4 separate regions of the Homo sapiens genome follow, and all the other regions are linked to region 4. Evidence: promoter capture Hi-C in 16 types of primary human blood cells and fetal thymus (Javierre and others, 2016). All regions are on one chromosome and are shown on one strand. Each heading gives the region's core, a stretch centred on a gene start or on the middle of the fragment in contact. The rest is flanking DNA. Distances are from core to core; before and after follow the strand shown. Region 1 overlaps DNAH1 (dynein axonemal heavy chain 1). Region 2 has its middle 16 kb from the start of POC1A. Region 3 overlaps DNAH1 (dynein axonemal heavy chain 1). Region 4 holds the start of GLYCTK (glycerate kinase).

Evidence for each region. Contacts are between HindIII fragments. The CHiCAGO score rates a contact against its expected background, and 5 or more counts as called.
Region 1: a contact is called between a fragment that was not itself captured here and the fragment with the promoter of GLYCTK in region 4, in 6 of 17 cell types (M1 macrophages, erythroblasts, endothelial precursors and 3 more). The highest score is 8.9, in M1 macrophages.
Region 2: a fragment that was not itself captured here is called in contact with the fragment with the promoter of GLYCTK in region 4 in 1 of 17 cell types (M2 macrophages); the score reaches 6.4 in M2 macrophages.
Region 3: a fragment that was not itself captured here is called in contact with the fragment with the promoter of GLYCTK in region 4 in 7 of 17 cell types (erythroblasts, M1 macrophages, endothelial precursors and 4 more); the score reaches 11.0 in erythroblasts.

What each region holds. Positions count from the first base shown.
Region 1 is chr3:52,361,221-52,364,285 of GRCh38, forward strand. DNAH1 (dynein axonemal heavy chain 1) reads left to right here. Exons shown (of 78, transcript NM_015512.5): 29 at 1-132; 30 at 441-546; 31 at 1,168-1,281; 32 at 1,775-1,924. Among named protein-coding and RNA genes, the nearest start is that of DNAH1, 46 kb to the left of the region's middle. RefSeq lists an enhancer at 1,071-1,624. The HindIII fragment of the contact is 7,102 bases long and covers 1-3,065 here.
Region 2 is chr3:52,169,233-52,172,241 of GRCh38, forward strand. No RefSeq gene overlaps it. Among named protein-coding and RNA genes, the nearest start is that of POC1A, 16 kb to the left of the region's middle. The HindIII fragment of the contact is 2,257 bases long and covers 333-2,589 here.
Region 3 is chr3:52,379,446-52,382,321 of GRCh38, forward strand. It overlaps DNAH1 (dynein axonemal heavy chain 1), which reads left to right. Exons shown (of 78, transcript NM_015512.5): 48 at 460-690; 49 at 2,195-2,391; 50 at 2,875-2,876. Among named protein-coding and RNA genes, the nearest start is that of BAP1, 29 kb to the right of the region's middle. The HindIII fragment of the contact is 6,412 bases long and covers 1-2,876 here.
Region 4 is chr3:52,286,289-52,289,234 of GRCh38, forward strand. GLYCTK (glycerate kinase) reads left to right here and starts at 1,540. Exons shown (of 5, transcript NM_145262.4): 1 at 1,540-1,588. GLYCTK-AS1 (GLYCTK antisense RNA 1) reads right to left here. Exons shown (of 1, transcript NR_046719.1): 1 at 2,292-2,946. LOC107986086 (a long non-coding RNA gene) reads right to left here and starts at 1,732. Exons shown (of 3, transcript XR_001740699.2): 1 at 1,545-1,732. RefSeq lists enhancers at 1,125-1,866, 1,172-2,371, 1,198-1,307. The HindIII fragment of the contact is 11,873 bases long and covers 1-2,946 here.

The sequences.
Region 1 (3,065 bases), core at 541-3,040, 75 kb after region 4:
CCCAGCTGGCACAGGCAAAACTGAGACCACCAAAGACCTGGGTAAGGCCTTGGCCATACAGACCGTTGTGTTCAACTGCTCTGACCAGCTCGACTTCATGGCCATGGGCAAGTTCTTCAAGGGCCTGGCCAGGTGAGGCTGGGCATGAGCGTGGCACAGGATGGGGTGGGACAGCCTAGCTCTCCTTGGGGAGGGCTAGGTGAGGGCAGTGCCTGAGAGGGGCCTCGAAGGATGGTGGAGGGGACAGAAGGGGGTAATAGGCATCACGGCTTGGTCCTGGGGGCATTGGGGTGGGGAGTGGCAGTGGGTTGAAGACTGAGCTGATGGAGATTGCCCCTGAGGGCTTCCTCCCAAGTGGAGTTGGAGGGGGCCCTCAGAGGGAGGTGCCCAGATTGGGCTCTGAACACATGTGCCCCATCCAATGTTCCGGCCTCACTCAGTGCTGGGGCCTGGGCCTGCTTCGACGAGTTCAATCGCATCGACATCGAGGTGCTGTCTGTGGTGGCGCAGCAGATCACCACCATCCAGAAGGCGCAGCAGCAGCGGGTGAGCCCGGGGGACCCACCTTACTCCCTCAGATCTGCCATACTCACGCCGCCATACTGCTCCCCATTGCAGGCTGAGAAGCCAGGCGCTAAGGTCCACCCTGGGTCCAGCCTCTCTTGTCCCGGGGGCACACCCTAACCCCAGTCTGTGGGCAGCTCCCAGGCCAAGCTGCGGGGGATGAAGGGGTCCCCTCCTCATTACATCCTGACCTTTATGGAAAGCCCCAGGCATTGGTCCTTTCTCTAGCCACGTGCAGGGCGGCCAGGGACCTTGTTCTGGGGACAGGAGCTGAGAGGCTAGCAGTTATCCCCTCCCCCACTTCCCCTAGTCAGGCTGAGCTTGGCTGGAGCTGGGGAATTGGGGGTGGAGCGAGTGGGAAGCAGGAGATGTGGAGACCTCCAAGGGCCTGAAGCCAGGAGCTGGAAGGCCATGGGTAGCCACTGGGGCCTGAGGTTTCAGGCCAGATCCTGAGAGAGGATACAACCCATGATCAGGGGTCCAGGCCTGGCCTACCAGCTACAGCCAGGACAGGGGCATCAACAGGGGACAAGGGGCCCACTCAGAGGAGGGGACAAGGCTGGGCACCCTAGTCCCAGGCAAGTCAGCCTCTCCCCACTGCAGGTGGAACGCTTCATGTTTGAGGGTGTGGAGATCCCACTGGTGCCATCCTGCGCAGTGTTTATCACCATGAACCCGGGCTACGCTGGCCGCACGGAGCTGCCTGACAATCTGAAGGCAAGTGCAGGCCCAGAGTGGCCCAGGAAGCACCAGAGCTCTAGCCTGAGTTCAGAGATGCTAAGCCACTTATGCAAGGACACAGTTGCTTGGACTCCAGGGACTGTGATTCCCTATGGTAGCCCCTTAGCCATGGAGGGGAGGCCTCAGGGCCTCAGACTTGTCCTCAGGGCATGGGAGAAGTCAGGCTGCCTATGGATGTGGTGTGGAGGGGGAATCTAATGAGACCTGTTCACCCTGGGCCTTCAGGAGAAACAGGAAAACAGGAGCCAAGAGGGGCATCTCCTGGGAGTCATGTGGGGGCAGGTTTGGATCAACACCAAGGATCCACTCTAATGGCAGAGCTACCAGTCTCAGGGGAGTGAAAGCCTCAGCTGTGGCAGGCTTGGTGCAGCAGGGAGTCCCAGCGTGTTAGGGAGGAGGGCCGGATGAAGCTGGGGGTGCTCTGGGGGTGAGCTCTGTTTGCTGTTCACATGTGCACTGTGTGTCCCAGGCGCTCTTCCGACCCGTGGCCATGATGGTTCCAGATTACGCCATGATCACTGAGATCTCCCTCTATTCCTTTGGCTTTAATGAGGCCAGTGTGCTGGCTAAGAAGATCACAACCACCTTCAAGCTGTCTTCTGAGCAGCTCAGCTCCCAGGTGTGGTCCTGCCCTGATGGGTTTCCAGGGTCTGAAAACTTCTGCCTGCTCCCAGCCTCCAGGGCACCTGCTGAGGGCCAGGCTCTATGCCCGGTGCTTTACAGGCATTACCTTGTCGGCTTCTCCCAGCAACCCTTGGAGATAGGAGTTACATGCCCATTTGTCAGCTGAGGACACCGAGGTCCTAGGTAGCTAAAGGTCTGGCCAGGCTCATGCAGTACACAGCAGCGCTGGAGCAGGAGCCAGGAACAGATGCCTGTGTGGCTACTTCAGGTGCAAGGGCCTTGATCATTAGGGCACCAAGAGCTTCAGAACCCCAGGCTGGGGAGCAAGTGCACCTGGGCCTTGTGGGGACCAGAGTAGGACAGCCAGGCCCTCCGAGCCTCCCAGCACCACCATCCTTCCACTCAGCTTGCTGAGCCCAGATTCCAAGGACAGATGGGGTGGCCCAGGCACCAGTGCTGGTGGATGAGCTTTCCTGTTCAGCTTGGTTCCCAAACAGGCCCCCACTTTGCAGCAGCAGAGACGAGTCCCACCTCTGGGCTGACATGCTAGCAACTTAGTTTGTCTTCCATCATGATTTCAGAAAAAAATCCCTGTTGTCACCCTAATGGGCCTTCTCTGGGTCACCTGCTCATCCATGAACACCAATCACTGTGGCCAGGGGTAATCAGTACTACCTTTGGCCAGATGCAGTCCACCAAAATCTATGAGCTAGAAGAGATGCAGCCTGTTACCAGGAAAAGCAGTGGCAGTTCATCACAGTGCACTCCTGGGTGCCGGCGCTCCCACACACCCTTCTTTCCAAAATGCTCCCCACCCCCAATCAGAGCAACTATCCCACATGGTTTTGGAAATGCACTCAACTCTTCCCAAATAGAAATGACCCAAAGTCAAGCCCAGCCTCTTCATGCAGCTCCAAGTCCGAGATTTCTGGAACATATGCTAGTCTATGGGTTGGGTCTAGATGGAGTCCTCTTGGTTGGGCACCATGGGGCAGAATGATTAATTTAACTATTTCCAACTCACTTACTGTGTAATGAAGAGAAACAGGCTGGGGGAAAAAGCATGGTGGTGTGGCCAGAAAGACGGGTCTGGAGAGATGTTATGGGAGAATGTTAGAAGGAAGCTCAAGGGCCAT
Region 2 (3,009 bases), core at 211-2,710, 120 kb before region 4:
GTGAGCCGAGGTCACTCCACTGCACTCTAGCCTGGTGACAGACTGGCAAGACTCCGTCTCAAAAAAAAAAAAAAAAAGAATAAATAAATAAAATTTGACAACCATCAGATGTTGAAAACTTGAAACCATCTGAATGGACTTCCTTCTTGGCCAGGGCACTCTAAAATTTAACCTGAAAGACTGGTTCAGGCCATGATGGGAAGTTGGGGTTGCACATGCCTCACTATATCCCTCCAGCGTTAACATCAACACAGACCTTAAGTCTGATAGGAAACATTTACAATCTATTTTCTCTGAAACCTGCTATCCAGAGGCTTCATCTGCATGGTAAAAGCTTGATCTCCACAACCCCTTATCTTAACCAAGATATTCCTTTCTACTGATAATAACTCTTTCAACACATCACCAATCAGAATATGTTTAAATCTGGCCAGGCGCGGTGGCTGACACCTGTAATCCCAGCACTTTGGGAGGCCAAGACAGGCGGATCACATGAGGTCAGGAGTTCAATACTGGCCTGGCCAGCATGATGAAACCCTGTCTCTACTAAAAATACAAAAATTAGCTGGACGTGGTGGCACGCACCTGTAGTCCCAGCTATTCAGAAGGCCGAGGCACGAGAATCACCTGAATGCAGGAGGCGGGTATCACAGTGAGTCAAGATTGTGCCACTGCATTCCAACCTGGGCAACAGAGCAAGACTGTGTCTCTGAAAAAAAAAAAAAAAAATTGAATTTAGAGAAACTCTTCTGTAAATGGTTTTCAAACGTTAGATTTATTCAAAGTGAGAGTCACTAGAAGATTTTACTTACCCGTCTAATCTTTCCAGATCCTTCTGTCTTCCATCCCTATTCACCTGGGAGGAGGAGCTGAAGGTGCCCCACCCCCTTTTGCTCATTTCTTCGCCAAAAAATGCAAATTCTCTGACAACATGTAAACAGCCCAGGATCTGCTGCTAGTACAACCTGCATAAACCAAGTGCCTCTATTCCCTGACTGGGCAGGCCCCTACCCCAGTACTACCTCCATTCGATTGGACTCCAGTTCTGACTGAGGCCTCCATGTAGAGGCAGAGCTCAGTTTTGAAGGAGCCTCAATGTTGGGGGGACCTTCTTATTGAGGAAGCTGGAAGAGAGCTATTTTAGCTATCTTTTTCTTTTTTTATTTTTATTTTTAAATTTATTTTATCATTATTATTATTATTATTATTATTATTATTATTATTATTATTATTATTTGAGACAGAGTTTTACTCTTGTTGCCCAGGCTGGAGTGCATTGGTATGATCTCAGCTCACTGCACCCTCTGCCTCCCAGGTTCAAGCGATTCTCCTGCATCAGCCTCCCAAGTAGCTGGGATTATAGGCACCCACCACCACACCCGGCTAATTATGTATTTTTAGTAGAGATGAGGTTTCACCATGTTGGTCAGGCTGGTCTTGAACTCCTAACCTCAGGTAATCCATCTGCTTCAGCCTCCCAAAGTGCTGGTATTGCAGGCATAAGCCACCACGCCTGGCCATAGCTATCTTTTTCAAGTCCCCTTGTGGCAGGAAGGTGTCTATCCTGGTGCAGGCCCACAGGTGGACTCCCCTACAAGAGGCTGTCTTCACTCCCCAGCCTGCTGACCATGAGCCAAGGCCACCCAGGGTGGGGCAGAGAAAGAAGTGGGAAAGTCGGATATCCCATCCACCAACTTAGCCCAGCCAGCCCGAAACCAGAAAGCCCCATCAATGCTATCAGTTTCCCCTGCCTACGCCTGCTGGTGGCCTGGGTTTGAAACTCTGAGCAGGGCAGCTCAGGGCTTGTCCCAAGGTCAGGCAGGCCTGCGGATGAGCCCAGGCCCTGCCACCTTTGAACTGGTGATCTAGCAGGAGTCATACCACCTCTCCCCGCTGCAGTGTTCTCAGTTGTAAAATAATCGTAATAATATGCCTGCCATGATAGAGGAGGGGAGATTCCATGAGCTCTTCATTAGTGTCAGAGCTTGATGTTGAGCTGACACTTAATATGAACTATGTGACTTCATACTTCCCCTGCTCCGATGATCTGGCCCACACCTCTCTGCCTCTGCTTCCACTGCTCTGCCCTGCTCTCCCTGCTCCAACCACATTGAGCTTCTTGCTGTTCCTTGAATAAGAATGTGCCAGCCACTCTCTCATCTCAGGACTCTTGCACCGGCTGTTGTCCCAGTGTCCCCATGGCTCTATCTGTCACTTCCATCAGGACTTTGTTCAAACATCAGCTTCTCAGTATAGCCTTCTCTGACAACCCTACTTACAAATGTCTGCCCACTCCTTCCCTTTCCCTGCTTTATTTTCCTGTGGTGACTTAACACCATCTGATGCACTGGACCTGTTATCTTCTCCCCATGAGAATGTCCACTCCAGAGACAGATGTGACTGTGCCCCTGCACCCAGCAGAGGGCCCAGATAGAGTGGGGTGCAATAAACATTTGGTGAATAAATAAATGACTCATTCCAACATTGCTCATAGATTGCAATGGAATCTGTGATGCACAGGACTGGTTCTTGGCTGGAGAGAAGGCGAAGGGATTAAGGTAATGAAGGAAAGCTGCTCTATAGGAGATAAGCTTTGGAGCACAGTGAGGGGTGCAGATGGACAGGAGAGAAGAGAAAGGGTGGTTCGGGTGCAGGGCACAGACTAGGAAAAGGTCTGGTAACAGGACTGAACATGTGGTGTCTGGGGAGTGGGACAAAGCAGATGAGGACCAGGAGTAGGGCCAGACTGGAAGGGCACATGTAGGCAAGGTCCCTGGGGATCCGCCTCAAAGGGTCAGGAGGCACATGTCCCCTCCTAGGACTGAGATGAGCCAAAAGAGACCCCCCACAGATGGGGCTATTGCACTAGGCCCACCTGTTGTGGGAGTGACCCCACCTGTTGTGGGAGTGACCCCTGCAGAGTGCCCCTTTCCATGGAGTCCCATGGCAATTCTGGGCCTCAGTGGTACCCACTGTGGAACTAGTGTGCCCCTGTGGGTCAGCTTTCTC
Region 3 (2,876 bases), core at 240-2,739, 93 kb after region 4:
GGCAGCTGAGATGGAGAGAGGGGGCAGGTTCAGAGGAGATTGGTGGGTCATGTCAGTGTGGCTTGGTGGGTGGTTAGATGTGGGGTGTTGGGAAAGTGTTAGGAGCATCAAGCATCCCTCCCAGGTTTGGGGTTAGGGGAGCGACAGGGGGCTAAAAGGTGGAAGTGAGGTGCTTGTGACAAGCTAGCAGAGCCAGACACCCAGAGGGCACTTGGCCAGCTGGACTCGGAGCTGAGGCATGAGGAGGCCCAGGCAGCACTGTGCAATCCACCCCATCCTCAGCCAGCCAGCAGTTGCACTTGCCAGCAGCCCCCACACACTGTCCCTGGGCCATGGTGGGAGAGCCAGGCTCCAGTCAGGGCCCCAGGAACTGGGGCCCACCCTCCCTTGCCTGGTGGTTTGAGAGATAGCTGAGGGCTTGGGGGCCAAGGACAGGCACCGATGCTGGGGCTACTGCAGGACCAAGTGCAGCTGCTGCGACTGTGGTATCACGAGAACTGCCGCGTGTTCCGGGACCGACTGGTGAATGAGGAGGACCGCAGCTGGTTCGACCAGCTCCTCAAGCGCTGCATGGAGCAGTGGGAGGTGACCTTCAACAAGGTCTGCCCCTTCCAGCCCATTCTTTACGGGGACTTCATGTCACCAGGCTCCGATGTCAAGTCCTACGAGCTCATCACCAGTGAGAGTAAGGTGAGGGGCCCAGGCAGGCGCCCTGCCCCTGGTGGGGTCCTCTTCAATCTGCCTCCCTGGGGCCCAGGCCCCCTGCAGTCACCACTAACAGACTACCACACTATAACCAGGGGGCCAGGACGCGGGGTAAGACAGCCAGCTCCAGGAGACTCCCGGCATGCCCTTGCTCTCTCTGGGTACCGGTTTCTTCACTTATCTCTGAAAACCAGCCTGTGGTCCAGCTGAGATGGGCTCTAGACACAGGGGCAATCATCCCTCCACAAGGGGCCGGGGGCGGGGCCTGGGGCCATGGGTCTCAGTCAGGACCCCAGGGAGGCAGGGAAGAGGCCTCACTTGGTGGCCCCAGTGCTGCATGGCTGAAGCAGGCCTCCTGACAGTTTCTCTCCACACGCATCCTCTCCTAATTCCAAGAGCTCCCACCAGGGTCACAGGGTCAGCACACCCTGGTAAGCCCCAGAAGGAGCAGGCAGGGCTCTGACCCAACTCTCAGGCCTCCATGTGTCCCTGGGTCAGGCCTCGTGCAGGGGGGCCTGGCTTCTTAAGGCCCAGCGTCCCCACCATGCACAGGAGGAACAGGGTATGCTGTGGCAGGTGAGCTCCCCGTCAGGGAGGGCCCCAGTACACGGTGCTCTGATCAGCCGAGCCCATGATTGGAGTCGCCCCAAAAGTGACAGCAAGCAAGTTCCTACAAGGGACTGCCCCCAAGCCATCCCTAGATTGGGCTGGTTGAGATTCCAAAGAAAGAAGCATTGAATTACAGGGTAATTAGTCCAGAGCATTTATTAGGGGAACTCACATACAGGGGAGAGCAGAGATGTTCTAGCTCAGTATGTGTGCAACAAGGGAGTCATATGAGTTATGGAGTTCACATGAGGACTGAAGGATTTGGGTGGGCTGGGGCTAGCTTCTATGTGTTTAACAATATGCTTGATCCCCCCGTGGGTTTTATTTTTGCTTTTGTTTTTGTTTGTGTGTGTGTGTATGTGACTGGGTCTTGCTCCATCACCTAGGCTGGAGGGCAGTGGCATGAACTTGGCTTACTGCAGCCTCTACCTCATGGGCTCTATCAGTCGTCCCACCTCAGCGTCCTGAGTAGCTGGGACCACAGGCACGCACCACCACGCCCAGCTAATTTTTATTTTTATTTTTTATTTTTTGGTAGAGGCAGAGTTTCGCCATGTTGCCCAGGCTGGTGTTGAACTCCTGGGCTCAAGTGATCCTCCCGCCTTGGCTTCCCACAGTGCTGGGATTACAGGCGTGAGCCACCGCGCTAGGCCAATCCCTCAGTGTTTTGAGCAACAATCTAAGCAAGTTTATCAGTGTCTGGGAATGTTCAGCTTGGGCTCGAGCCTGCAGGGGAAACATGCAGCTGGCCGGGTCACAGGTGGTCAAGGCACCTGTGCTTCTCAGTCAGGACAGAGAAGAAAGCGGGTGGGTGGGGGGAATCGGGGAGACCCTACAGTAAGAGAGACCCCGCCTTCCCCATCCTCGCCTTGGTGCACAGATGATGCAGGTGATAGAGGAGTACATAGAGGACTACAACCAGATCAACACGGCCAAGCTGAAGCTGGTCCTCTTCATGGACGCCATGAGCCACATCTGTCGCATCAGCCGCACCCTACGCCAGGCGCTGGGCAATGCACTCCTGCTGGGCGTGGGTGGCAGCGGCCGCAGCTCCCTCACAAGGCTCGCCTCGCACATGTGAGCGCCTCCAGGGCGTGCTGGGCAGTGGGCGGCCAGGGCTGGCTGGTCGGTTTGACTGACCCATGCTTTTGCACAGTGGTAGAGGCCTCGGGCAACCCTGAAGTAGGCCCGTGCAGCCTACAGGCTTCTGGAAAGACTAGTAGCAGGATCTGGGCTCCAGGGAGAGGCAGCAGCAGTGCCTGTGGTGCTGTAGGGAGGGAAGTGTGGTGCAGGCATCCCAGAGGGATTACTAGGGGAGGTGGCCAGGGCTGCTCTCAGAATCAGAGCTGGGAGGATGGAAGGGAAGGGCATTTGGACTGAGGGAACAACTTGGGCAAAGGTCTGAAGGCAAAAAAGCAGGTTCAGGGCCTGAAGGGTCTGCAGGTCTGCCCAGGATGGGAGCAGAATTCCAGGTGGTCAGGGTAGGGTGTGGTCACCCACCACCCTTCAGCGTCTGGCCCCAAGTCCCTGGCATGCTTCAACCCAAACTTCTGCCTCCAGGG
Region 4 (2,946 bases), core at 290-2,789:
GAGACCAGCCTGGCCAACATGGTGAAACTCTGTCTCTACTAAAAATACAAAAATTAGCTGGACGTGGTGGCGGGCGCCTGTAGTCCCAGCTATTCGGGAGGCTGAGGCAGGAGAATTGCTTGAACCTGGGAGGCGGAGGTTGCAGTGAGCCGACATCGTGCCCAGGCTGCAGTGCAGTGGCCGTGAGCTGAGACTGTGCCATTGCAGTCCAGCCTGGGTGACAGAGCAAGACTCCACCTCAAAACCAAGAGAAAGAAATGTGTTTTTGTTTGTTGGTTTTTTTTTGAGACAGGGGCCCAGGTTGGAGTGCAGTGGCGTGATCAAGGTTCACTGCAGCCTCTACCTCCCAGGCTCAGGTGATCCTCCCATCTCAGCCTCCTGAGTAGCTGGGACTACAGGAGCATGCCACCACACCTGGCTCTTTTTTTTTTGGTAGAGATAAGTTTCGCCATGTTCCCAGGCTGGTCTCGCATTCCTAGGCTCAAGCGATCCGCCCACCTTGGCCTCCCCAATGTTGGGATTACAGGCGTGAAACACTGCGCCCTGCCAAGAAACATGTTTCAATAAAATTGTTAGGAAATCAAGTGTGTGATTTGTGATGCAACTCTCTCCTCTATCTCCCTAAGAAAACATCAGTAAAAACAGTGAACTGTTTTGTATTTTTGGAGTCTGATCAGGACTCATCTTATGAATGTGGGAAGGCATCCAGCCAACACAGGGTAGGCCCCGGATGAGAGTAGGGACAGCGAGGTAGGCCCAGAGTCATTAGCGTTTACATGCCGCTTATGTGCTTGAGGATCGCAGAATGGAACTCTTGCTAAGCCAGAGCTGTATTTGGTGGCCCATGGTGGGAGAGGGAAGAACAATAATAAGTTGTGGAATAAAAGCCATGGAGAGGAGCGGGAATTACTTAATCTGGCTCCAGAAGGGGTGAGTTGTGGGGAAGTAGTGATTCTCAGTTCGTTTGCTCAGCCCAGTCAGTGCCTGACACTCAGGGTGCATCTGCTGACTGACCGTACAGGATAAAGGAAGGGAGAGGCCGGGTGCGGCGGCTGAAGTCTGTAATCCCATCACTTTCGGAGGCTGAGGTGGGTGGATCGCTTGAGGTTAGGCGTTCGAGACCAGCCTGGGCAACATGGCGAAAGCCCGTCTCTACTAAAAAATACAAAAATTAGCCCGGAGTGGTGGCACATGCCTGTAATCCCAGCTACTCGGGAGGCTGAGGCATGAGAATCGCTTGAATCCGGGAGGCGGAGGTTGCATTGGGCCGAAACCGCGACTCTGCACTCCAGTCTGGGCGACAGAATGAGACCCCGTCTCAAAAAAAAAATCGGCAATCGGTGAGGCGGGGATTATTACCCTCAATGTAGAGATTTAAAAAATGAGGACTGAAGGTGACTCCTTCCAGGTCTGTCAGTGGCCAGCAAAGAGCCAATATGCTAAACTCTCCCCTCCCGGACACCGGCTTCAGCCAGAGCTCGCACCCGCCTGCGCCGCTCCACCCACCCACACTTCCGGCTTCCGCTCCGCCCACCCCCTAGTACTTCCGTTCTCCAGCGCTGGGCACCGCGGCCGGAGCTGTGGGCTGGTAAGTCTGCGCCGCCAGGGCTCGCATGGCCTTCAGAAGCGGTCCCTGGGCTGGGCGATGACGGGTCCTGGTGGCAGCAGGCCCTTCTTTCTCGCATCACCGGGCATTACGCGGCAGCCATTTCCCTCGCTAAGGCCCTACCTTAGGATGACGTCACTTCCGGCCCCCTACTGTCTAGGGAAAGCCGGAAATGGTACCAGCCTTCTTTGATGGCGGGGAGGAGTCAAGACCGGTAGTCTTCCTATTTCCGTTGTTTTGCTCTGGAGCCTCCCGGAGTTTCGGAGAGACCGTGTCTTGGATAGAATTGGAGGACTTAGCAAATAAAAATGCAAAGCGTCCAGTTACATTTTTTTTGAGTTAGAATCTCACTCTGTCACCCAGGCTGGAGTGCAGTGGCGCGATCTCGGCTCACTGCAACCTCCGCCTCCCCTGTTCAAATGATTCTCATGCCTCAGTCTCCCGAGTAGCTGGGATTACGGGCGCCCACCACACCCGGCTAATTTTTGTATTTTTAGAAGAGACGGGGTTTCACCACGTTGGTCAGGCTGGTCTCGAACTCCTGACCTCAGGTGATGCGCCCGCCTCAGCCTTCCAAAGTGCTGGGATTACAGGCGTGAGCCACTGCGCCGGGCCACGTCCAGTTAAATTTGAGTTAAGATAAACGACGAATAATTGTTAAGTCCTAAACATTGTATGCACATACTTATACTTTAAAAATTACTTGTTTATTTGAAATTCAAATTTAACCGGAAGTCCTGTATTTTCTCTGGCAGCCTTAGCATTGAGCGTCCCCCTGTCCTGTGCTCATACCCAGTGGCAAGGCTGGGATCTTCTAGGCTCTTGTCCATCTGGGAAATAGATACAAATTTCATCCAGGCTATAAAGACCGGCTGTCTTAGTTGCTAAGATGCTTTTAGCTCCAAGTCCAATGGGCAAGCTCCAGGGGTCCCCCTGGCCAAAACTGGACCCATTTTCGGAATCCCCATGACGATGCCCTCTGTGTTCCCTTTCACAACAGAAGTCAGGCATGGCTGTCTTTTCTTACCGGAGAGCTGAGAACTAGGCAAGCAAAATGGTCAAAGTCTAGAAGTAACCACCATATTTGGGTGTGGGGTAAACCGGTGTTTGAGATCTGTGTTGCAGTGGACAGTATCAGAGAGCCTGAGGTTGTTAAGGGAAGAGCGTAGTGTTAATCTCACCCCATGTCTCATTTTGCGGATGAGGCCCAGTGAGAGAAATGGAGGTGTCCCAGCCACTCAGAAAGCCTATAGTAGAGCTGGAACCTCAATTCCCAGCCTCCTTACCCTGCTCAGTCCATACTTGCTGATGAAGTCAGCTTGCAACATTTATGGTAGGCA